2 separate regions of the Homo sapiens genome follow, and region 2 is linked to region 1. The links are contacts of gene promoters, found by promoter capture Hi-C in human tissues and cell types (Jung and others, 2019). All regions are on one chromosome and are shown on one strand. The core of a region is centred on a gene start or on the middle of the fragment in contact, and the rest is flanking DNA. Distances in the headings are between cores, read along the strand shown. Region 1 holds the start of MCC (MCC regulator of Wnt signaling pathway). Region 2 overlaps MCC (MCC regulator of Wnt signaling pathway).

Region 1 (5,328 bases), core at 2,004-4,503:
CCAGTTTCTCTTCCACTTATCCTTCCCCCACACTTAAGATTTCCAGCCTACTCCTGTTTAGAATGAGGGTTCAGCGGAGGACCAGAGCAAATATACTTGAATGTGGATTATCATGGGATGGGGGGTTTATTATAGGTATTAACCGCTACTTGCCCACCCAATATCTATTTCCTGCTCTTAGTAACAGAACCCAGATTTTGTTTAGGAGGTAATGTGCCTAGTTGAATTATATGCTTCCTCGGACTCTACTGAAGTAGGCATGGTTAAGTGATGTAGTTTGACCAATAAGATGTCAATTAAGGGATTTGGGAAAGCTCTGCTTTAATGATACAGGCACAACTTATTTCCACTTCCTTTTACATCTTCTTCCCTAGAATTTGGGGATGAAGAGGGAGACAGGGCAATCACCTTTGGACTATGAGATAACCATGAGGATGAATGCTTTATGTGAAAAATGGTGTTGGAGAAAGGTAGAAGGTAGCTGGGGACTGACACCACCGCAGAGCTGCTGCCCCAACCTAGATAGCCTACCTCCAGATTTCTACTAGGTGACAAAGCCAACCCTTACTTGACTATGGTTAGGTTACTGTGATGACATATAGTCATCTGAAATTCTAACAGATACAGCTGTCTACCAGGAACATAAATTTAACGTCTTTAGATGAATCCAAAGTTTTTAAGGTTTTAATGTTAAAAAGTCCAACTCTCATGTCTGATAGAACAGGAATGCACAACCCTCCAAACCACATCACCCACTACAGAGTGGTAAGTACAGGTCATTAAATGAAAGCAGCACAGAAAAGTGGCTTCAGAGAGGGAATCATTTAATGCCCCTTACCTTCATTAGCCCCATTCCCCAAGTCTTACCACATAAACGTAAATTCCAGGTAAAACTGTGCTTACCAGGTAAACACACTTCCAGACAAGTTCCTTGTTGCCCTAGATTGCCATCCCTAAACTTCTCCTACATGGCAATTCTGCCACAGCATAATTTTCAGGGCAGCTCCACCCACAGTTAAAGTTATGATTTAGGGTTCATTACTACACATACCTTGAAACTTTTAAGCAGACACATTAAAGTAATGCAGCTCAAGGAATGTTAACAACTTTTTCCACTTTTGCCCCAGCCAGTTTCTACTCTAATCCAAAACGGCTTCTTTATCACCACCCACTTTACTCAAATTACGCTTACAGAATTCATTATCCTCCCGGGTAGAATCACCGAAAATAATGTGAGCATTTATATAGAAAGTGTAGTTCAGATAAAGCAATATATTAATAGGCCAAATTAGAAAAGGATAGCACGCTGCTAGTTTTCTGTATGCACTCTTGCCCGTGTGAAATTAAACTTTTTTGCATCCATGCGGGGAGCGGTGGCTCAGGCCTGTAATCTCAGCGCTTCCTAAGGCCGAGGCGGGCGGATCACTTAGGGTCAGGAATTCGAGACCAGCCTGGCCAAATTGTGAAGCCCCTTCTCTACTAAAAATACGAAAATTAGCCGGGAGTGGTAGTGGGCACCTGTAATCCCAGCTACTCGGGAAGCTGAGGCAGGAGAATCTCTTGAACCAGGAGGCGGAGGTTGCAGTGAGCCAAGACCACGCCACTGTACTCCAGCCTGGGTGATAGAGCGAGATTCTGTCTAAAAAAAAAAAAAATTGTATCCAAAGTTGGAGTTTGCCTTTATTATTGCAAATGAGATAATAACCTTTCAAGTAGGAAAACAACAAAAAGGAAAACTATATAATGAAATTTCTTTTACTCCCAGAACCAAAATAACGAGACTTCCAGATAGAAATTTGCATGGAGTCAATCAGAATTACATATTATTTTCATTTCCGAACAGAATTACTCCATCAAGTTTTCTGATATCTTCCTAATGTTTCTCAGTAAAACTTTAGCAAAGTAATAAAAATTCACCTAAGAATGATCAAAATTGCGTTGAGTCCCAAATAAATAATTTTTTTTATTTTAAGGGAAAAATTCCGCACTTTGCTTTCTTTTTTTTTTTTTTAGGTAGGCAGGGACAATCAGGAAGCAGCCCCGGATTTTCAGAAACGATCTTTAGCATCACCAAGACATAGACTAAAGAAACATGTAATGCACAACTTAGGCTGCTCCTTCATCCAAGGCAATTCAAATTTCCACGGATACCAAGTCTTCAATGGCCGGTGTCAACCATTCAATAGAAGCATACCAGAAAATGTTGCGATTGCCTTCTTCACCACAAGAGTCTAAGTGACACAAATTTGGGCAGAAGTAATTATTTGGCCAAGCCGGGAGGCAGGAAGCTTAAATACCGCCTCTGTAGGAAGTGCGGGGGATCCGAAGCAAACACCCCAAAGTTTGTTTGTGAGTGGAGGCGCGGAGGCGCCCGGAGCCACGCCGAAGCTCACCTGGTCAGCGCACAGAGCCGGGTAGGAGTCGGGTCTAGCCCTAGTTTGCTCCTGAGCGCTTCGTTCCTCTCAGGCTACTGCGTTTAAATCAATACTGGGTGGCAAACGATACCCATTCTTTGGGCTCTGAAGTTTGGAATTCATGGGTTCTGCGGCACAAGAAAGTTTCTTCACAGGTTATTTCCCTGTCCGAGGCTGTCGCTTAGCTCATCTCCTCCCGGTGCGGCCCTGGGGTGTCCACCAAGCCGCCGGGCAGATCGCTGCCCCGTGCTGCGGCATCTTGATGCCCAGGACCCCGAGGCTGTGGGGCAGCCCCTCCTACCTGGGACAAGCGGCCAGAACTCCTTTTCCCACAGGGAAGAACACTCCAAGCCCCCGGAAGAGTGCGCATCCTAAGGAGATGTCTCCCAACGCCTAGACAAAGACAGCGCTGGGAAAAGTTGGACCAACTGGCACCCCCGCAAGGCGAACAGAGCAGTCCCCTCGGCCTTCGTGGCCGAGCCGGCTACGCGCTCTCGGAGTCGCGGCCAACTTTTCCCGCGAGCTTCTGAGCAACTTGCCGCAAGTTGGGGCGAGGGGGCAGAGCAGGGGTCAAGGGCGCGCGGAGGGACTGATCTCGCTCCTGTCGGTTTCCTCGTACCTCCCCGCGTACCTGCTGATGTATCCGTCCCCGTCGCCGTCGCACGTCTGGAAGAGGCGCCGCATCCTCTCCTCCTCGCCGGTGCTGGACGTGTCGCTGCTGCTGCTGCTGCTGCCGCTGCCGCCGCCGCCGCCGCCGCTGCTGGAGCTCCCCGCAGCCGCTGCCGCCGCGGCCGCCATCATGCGCCCGCTCCCTACTTGGGAGGAGGAGTACGCGCGACCGCAGCTGGAATCCGCGCGGCGCGCAAGCTGCCTGCAGCCCCGAACTTGCCTGACAACGGAGCATGCCCAGTGGCCGCCGGGGCGCTCCGGGCGAGGGATTCCACCTCTCCGGGTTTTGCCCGGACTGGGAAGATGGGCGCTCTGGAATCGCCCGAGGAGGCACCTCAGGGAAGAGGGAGGAGGGGAAGGTGGCTGGAAGAGTCAGGGAGCTAAGGGTGGCAACGGGAACACAAGAGGAGGCAGAATACACTGGAAGCCCCCGGGAAGGGTGTCAGCATTGTGCATCCGGCAACGACGCGGGCCCGGGACACTTGGGGACGCTTCAGGCAGAGGGCAGGTGTACTCCCGGCAGACCTTCTCCGACCGCCCGGAGTCATGGCTTCCTTTTCCAGAGAAGCTATATAAACACTCTCCTTCTGCAAACTCAAAACGGTGCTTGTAATCCCACTCTCCAGGATTGTTCCGGGTTCTGTACCCATAGCCACCAATGAGAACCGGAATGACTGGCCTTTTTATGAAATTTTGACACCTGTCAAGAAACCTGGCCCTCGCAGCCCTCATCTTGGCTCCCACTCTGTACTGGGAAGAGTCTGCACGCTGTGTGGCATTGTGTACGTTGGGTCAATTTCTGGAAACGGCTCACTCTACTGGCCAGGCATCACTAGAATTTCCCCCAACAGCTTTAATAATGCCAAGAGCGAACATAATAGATGGTCTCATTTGATCCACACTACAGACCTGGAAGATGCCTCTTTTATTATCAATCCTACGACTTAGGAAGTATTAATAGATAAGTACCTCATAGAGTTATCTTACATATAAAAGGAGAGCAGACATAATGCAGTTAGGACAATGTCTGACACCTAGTAAGTGCTCAACAACTGTTAGCTCTCATTGTTCCCAATTTACAGGTAAGAAAACTGAGGTACCAAGACCTGCTCAAGGTTCCAGGTTTAGTAAGTGTTAGGGCAGAGGCAAGCCCGGGCAGCCTAACTCCAGAGCAGGAGCCTTTAAACACTGCACTATTCCCCCATAGCCAAAGGGAAACCACAGTGAAGCAATTTGTGGTTTCGTGAATGACTCATTATTCTGTCCTGGATTTTCTGCCAGAGAGGCGTGTGAAGTTCTCTGGTGGTTTTAAAATATGTCCACAGATTCTTTGGTGCACCCCTCATCAAGAGGTGGAGTCTGTTGCTTCCCCTAAACCTGGATTGGACTTGTGACTGCCTTGACTTCTGAGACTAGGTTAGAAAAGGCAATGCAGATTGCACTTGGCTCTCTCCCTTGGGACACTTACCTTTGAAGCCTTGAGCTGCCTGAAAAGAAGTTTGGCTACCCTGAAGCTGGAGAAACCATGCAGAAAGACCATGTAAAGAAAAAAGGAGATGACCAAAGAGCTACAGCTGTTCTAGCCCTGGATCTTAGAATCTTCCCAGACTAGGTGCCAGACATGAGTGAGAGATGATGCTAGCTCTAGATGCTGCAACTGCATTGGAGACCCTGAGCAAAACTGGCTAACCAACCCCCAGAGCTGTGAAGATAATAATTAAAAATTGTTGTTTTAAGCCATTAAGTTTTGAGGTGATTTGTTATGCAGCAATATATAACTGGAACAAGTCCATATGTCTTGGGAATGTCTGCTAGGTCAGAAGGAAGGAATCTCTGCTCTCTTTCTCCTCCTCTCCACCCCATCTACCTATTCCTACTTTACTTCTTTATTATTCTCTAAGTTCCCAGTATTTCAGGGCACTAAAATCATAGATTCATGAGTTAATGAGTTAATGGGTTATCATGGGAGTGGGACTAGTGACTTTATAAGAAGAGAAGGAGAGACCTGAGTTAGCAGGCTCAGCCCCCTTGCCATGTGATGCCCTGCACTGTTTTGGGACTCTGCACAGAGTCCCCACCAGCAGGGTGGCCCATTGACCTTGGACTTTTCATTCTCCAGAACTGTAAGAAATAAATTCATTTCTTTATAAATCACCCTAGTTTCAGGTAGTCTGTTCTAAGCAACAGAAAATTGACAAGACCAGAAATTAGTACCGGGAGTGGGGTGTTAACGAAAACGAATACC
Region 2 (5,328 bases), core at 1,758-4,257, 320 kb before region 1:
GTTGTTCTTGAAAAAATGTTCTCTCATTAAGACCCAGTCAAACTGCTCAGGTGTGGTGCCAAGGGGGTTAATGTACAAATTCAGAAGCTCTATATGGGGTCACATTCTGGCCATGGGGAGACACAAGGGTAGGTTTCTTAAAATGCATTGACTTGACCTCTTCCCCAAGAGCAGTCACCTTTTGAACTGCTGTGGGATGACCTGGGAAAAAAACAGAAAGCTCTGCAATCAGGCACTCTGTGTGAGTGTTTGTAGTCAACAATCAGAGGGCTGTCTAGAAAACAAAATGCCTCATTTCTTTAATAGTAGCTATTCAGGCAGCAAGAGGCAATTTAAAGACTGGCCAGCAAAGTGCACTGTTTGGGAGATCGGCATAAATGATAACATTTCTATTCTACTCCAGCTTTTATGCATTGCTCAACTTCACATTGCTTAAATAAAGTACTTCCTTCTGGGGATGGCAAGTACATGATACCTCAGCTACAGCTACTATGGTAGAATTAGATGGATATACCCCACACATCTAAGCTCCAATACAAAATTCTTAGGGATTTTTAGTAAGATGCACAAATGAGTATTTTTAAGCACAAAGTCATGGGCAGGTCTGGTCTTCATAGAAAGAAGCTTGACCATTGATGGTAGTGTCTTAATCTAAATTTCTTTTTTCTTCTTTACAGCACCTACTTCTTTTAAACAAGGACAGATGGAGCCATAGGGTGCTAACTGGTCCCTTTACTCCTTTCACTTTTTTGTCCTTTTCTTCAATGGACTTTACTTCTAATCCATGGCAGAATCATCCTCTCCTTGTAGAATTGGGCAATATACCATATTCCTACCTCCTTAGGCAAGAAGGGACATTTCCAAAATTTTCTGATAAACCACAACTGCATGAATGGTGAGAAGCTTGGATGCTTTTTATTTCTGTGGCGTCATTAAAGTCCCACAGTACCCAGCCTTTGCTATGCACACCCACCCATGTCCCTATCTGCTTGTGGGAAGCTAATATTTACTCTACCCACTTCCTAGGGATACCGGGGTCTCGGGGCATTCCTATAAGTGTTGTTTGTTAAAAGCACTACAAAAATGTTACAGTTCAAGGTAGTATTTACTGACTTTTATATATAACTCTCCTTACTGGTGTTCTTAAAATTCATCTCTAACATACTTTATTATGTTTGCCTCTGTTTACAAAATTTGACAAGAAGTTATAGACTTTTCGTGATGTGGTCAGTAGTTACAGTATAAGCAAGCAACTCATATGTTTTGCTCCCAGAAAAGAGCCCTTGGGAATACTTATCTCTAAGGGCAAGACTTGAAATCTGAGAGTCAGATCCAAATATTGCCAGATGGCTGGCAATACCTTTAAGCTGAAGAGTGGGTGTTTGGCTCCCACACTGGGCGTTCTGCATCCAGAACTGAGACTCTGTGGAAGCACCGAGTACATGCGTCCCTAAAGCTTTGGCTTCAGTGGCTCTCCTGAACCATTTCTGTTTGTCAAAGGCATGTGACCATGTCCTGGCAGTTCACTCAGATATCTGCCCTCCACACAAAAATTTGATCACAACTGCCTACATCCACAAGAAAGCTCCTGAGTCAAGTTTAGCAGAGTGCTATCACAGCATGGTGCAAGATAATTTCCCATCAGACAGGCAGCCATTCTCTTGAACCTAAAGACAAAAGGAGGAAGCATAGAAAATAGAGCTGTTTCATCACTTGGGTACTTATGAGTTTACATCTCTGCCCCAAAATGTATTAAGCTTCAGTCGGGCAATTACCTAACAAGGGCAAAAATGCACAGAGACAAGCAGAAGGCGGAAACCTCTTATTTTTTAATTTTTGAGACAGAGTGTCACTCTGTTGCCTAGGCTAGAGTGTAGTGCCACGACTCGGCTAACTGCGAACTCTGTCTCCTGGGTTCAAGCTATTCTGGTGCCTCAGCCTCCTGAGTAGCTAGGACTACAGGCATGCACTATTACACCTGGCTCATTTTTGTATTTTTAATAGAGACAGGGTTTCACCATGTTGCCCAGGCTGGTCTTGAACTCCTGGCCTCAAGTGATCAGCCCATCTTGGCCTTCTGAAATGCTGAGATTAGGGGCATGAGCCACCGCGCCTGGCCCTGGAAAGTGGAAACCTCTTTAACCCAGAACATCTAATTGGTGGCTCTGTGGCCTGTATCATTTCACAGGTGGTTACCGGGCAGCCTCCAAGAACGGAAGCAGCTGTGGCAAGGGAATTCTCCAGAATCTGTGAGGTTTCTAGCTACGAAGAGCTTCAGTGATATCTGCTTGTCACCAGCAAGTCCTGGAACTCATCAGTAACTGACCCTACTACATGAGCCCCTACATAAGGAAGGCTCTCCCTTCTCACCCTCATGATCCATCTCCCATGGTTCTTAGCAAACCATCAGTGCCATGTTTTGACCAAGAAAAAGTAAAATGGAAAGCTATCCAAATGTTGACTGACTTCAGGTACTATGGGAGCACTGAGGGGGAAAAGAACTGTTATGTAGGGGAAGGATTCTATATGAGAACAGGTAGGACCCTTTTCTCCAAATGTAGCAGTGGAAGAGAAAAGAGACACATACCAATGGACAGTTCATACCCAATAGACACAGTTCAGCTCACACAATCCAGGCACCTGACTTAATATTGATCAAGTCTCACTGGATCACTTAAGACAGGATTCAGAGGTGACAGCAATGTTTTTGTCTGTCTGAACACAAAACAACTCAAAAAAGGGTCTCAGGCATCAAACTCTCACCTCTTTAAGGTTATTTAACAGCCTAGGCAAAATTTTGGAGGTTAGAACAACTATTCAGCTGCTTTAGCACTTCATTTGCATAGAGAACAAGCTTCATTTTCCCTTCTCACTGTACTTGGTCAGCCTCAAGTTGCTATTTCCTATAGCTTTACAGCTGAAAACTCTACTCTGCCATGCACATCCTCTTCTTTTAAGTAACCTCGTTTGACTAAAAAGGCTTTGGGGAGGCAAATGTGAAATGTTCTTTCCCCACCTCTTACACACTTTGACATAACACAGAACAAATCAGGTGACGAGAAAGACTCCACCCATGGCCATCTGTCCATCTTAACACAATTACCTATGTGCTGGGCGTACCATAACTTAGCCAACAGCCAATTATAGAATGTGTAACCAATTTTCCTTGTTGTATATTGCTACAATGAAGAACCTTAGAACAAATTCGTGGAAATAGAGTTAATTATCTGGCCAAGGCTTCTGACTGTGAAATTGCCTTCTACCGAAAGCTATTGCAATATATATTTCTCCCAGCTGTATCTATTTCACTTTACTCCTAACATGTGTAGATATATCACATATTTTTTTTTTGCCAATTTGATTCCAAAATAGTCTTCATTTTCTTGATTATTTCAGGATAAACTTTTTGTCGTAAATCTACTGGACACATGAATTTGTTTTTTAATTGCCTGTTTATGTTCTTTGCCTGTTTTGATAGGATGATTTTTTAGAGTTTGATGTATATAACAGATATTAACTTTTCACCAGATACACTGCAAATACTCTTTCCCAGTGAACTGTTCGTCTTTTAATTTATATAGCATTTTATCACATCTGTATGTTTCATATTTTTATGTAGCTTCCATAAACCTTTTCCTTAACAGATCCTCTCTCTGATTTTTGTTTAGAAAGACATCCTCCACCCCACTCAGATTCCATAGCTACCAACATTTTCTTCAGTGTGGTTTTCTTTTATGTGGTCATTTTTTAAACCTTTTATTCATCTGGAATTTCATGGCATACATGAATTAGAAATCAACTTTGTACTTTTCATTTATTGTTTGTCCTATTACTACTGAATAATTATAGCTACATCTTTATGTTACTCTAAATGACAATATTATGTTTAATGTTGCATAGTGTAATATCTCCCCCTTTGTTTTATTAAAAATAATATTTTAGCTATTTGTTTATTCTTCCTGATAAATATAAGGTCACTGTAAAGATTTGTTTTGAAATCCCATGAGGCTCTGGATCACAACACCACTAAACTTCTATTCTCCCCCAATCAGTGTAATCATGTGCATGACTGAATCCCATCTAATAACATGAGCACTCCATTTATCAAATTGTATTTTTCTTTGCAGAGGCTCTCTTTAACCTAGACATAAATTCCTTGAGGACAAACTTTATTTCTGTTTTCTCAGTATATTCTATTCCTAGTAGCTAGTACAGTGTACTAGAATGAATGAAATCAAAGTGACCTAGAACATTTGTCTTTAACATCTTATTTAGTATTTCAAACCCCAATTAGCTAAAACAGCACCATAACCCTGAATGCACTTGGTGTGTGTAACTCAGCAAAGGTCTAAGTGCAGGGATTTACAGCCCACCACACCACTCTAACAGCATAACCAATTCCAAAGACAGAGACCTTTCTACATTACTGCAACAGCAACACAAAGGGGAAATGAACATGGAGGGTAACACTGGGTAGATTAAGATGAACCAAAATCAACAGAACTGGAACTCATGCTTGAGAACTACAGAAATGTGTCTAGAATGAGGTATATCACTGCCATGGTGAAGTAAAGAAGTCAGAACACTGCTTTAAAAAGTCCTAGACCCAATGCTAAGAGAGATTTAGGACATTGAGATAGCAAAGATCCAAGGTAGGGGTGGGTAGACACAGAAATATCCTAGGTAAAAAAGACCTGAATCAATGTTCCCAACCTGTCTTCTTCCTGGCTCCTTGGTAAAGGGACTCAGCTAACAAAAACCAATTCACTGGTGGAGGCTGGATGGAGTCATTGTGAATCGTACCTACACTGCTGGTATGGATCACCTGCACTGTTTGGCACCTAAGGAGCACCTCTTTTGATCTAATGATTTACTAGTTTTAAGATATATTTACAAAGATATTTATTATAGCAGTATAATAACAAAAACTAAACGAACACATTAATGCCCATCTACAGGAGAGTAAATAAATACACTGACATATCCATACTTTGCAGCTGTAAAAAAGAATGGTATATTGAAGACCTTGGAGAAAAAACCCACGACATATAGTTAAAAAATATTTTTTTTCTTAAGACTTTTTTTTTTTTTGAGGGTGTTTCTCTGTCATCCAGGTTAGAGTCCAATGGTCCAATCACAGCTCACTGCAGCTTCAAACTCCCAGGCTCAAGCAATACTAACTCAACCTCCCAAGCAAGCATCTGGGACTACAGGTGTGAGTTTTGTAGTTTTTGTAGAGATGAGGGTCTCCCTATGTTGTCCAGGCTGGTCTCAAACTCCTGGGCTCAGACGATCCTCCTGCCTTGTCCTCCCAAAGTGCTGGGATTA

Evidence for each region. Contacts are between HindIII fragments. The study calls those that stand out against the background at their distance.
Region 2: a fragment that was not itself captured here is called in contact with the fragment with the promoter of MCC in region 1 in 1 of the 25 tissues and cell types used here (mesenchymal stem cells).

Annotation. Positions count from the first base shown.
Region 1 is chr5:113,485,200-113,490,527 of GRCh38, forward strand. MCC (MCC regulator of Wnt signaling pathway) reads right to left here and starts at 3,254. Exons shown (of 19, transcript NM_001085377.2): 1 at 3,046-3,254. The coding sequence starts at 3,215. RefSeq lists an enhancer at 3,153-3,447. The HindIII fragment of the contact is 5,374 bases long and covers 938-5,328 here.
Region 2 is chr5:113,169,536-113,174,863 of GRCh38, forward strand. The region is part of intron 3 of MCC (MCC regulator of Wnt signaling pathway); the gene reads right to left. Among named protein-coding and RNA genes, the nearest start is that of DCP2, 200 kb to the left of the region's middle. The HindIII fragment of the contact is 4,489 bases long and covers 764-5,252 here.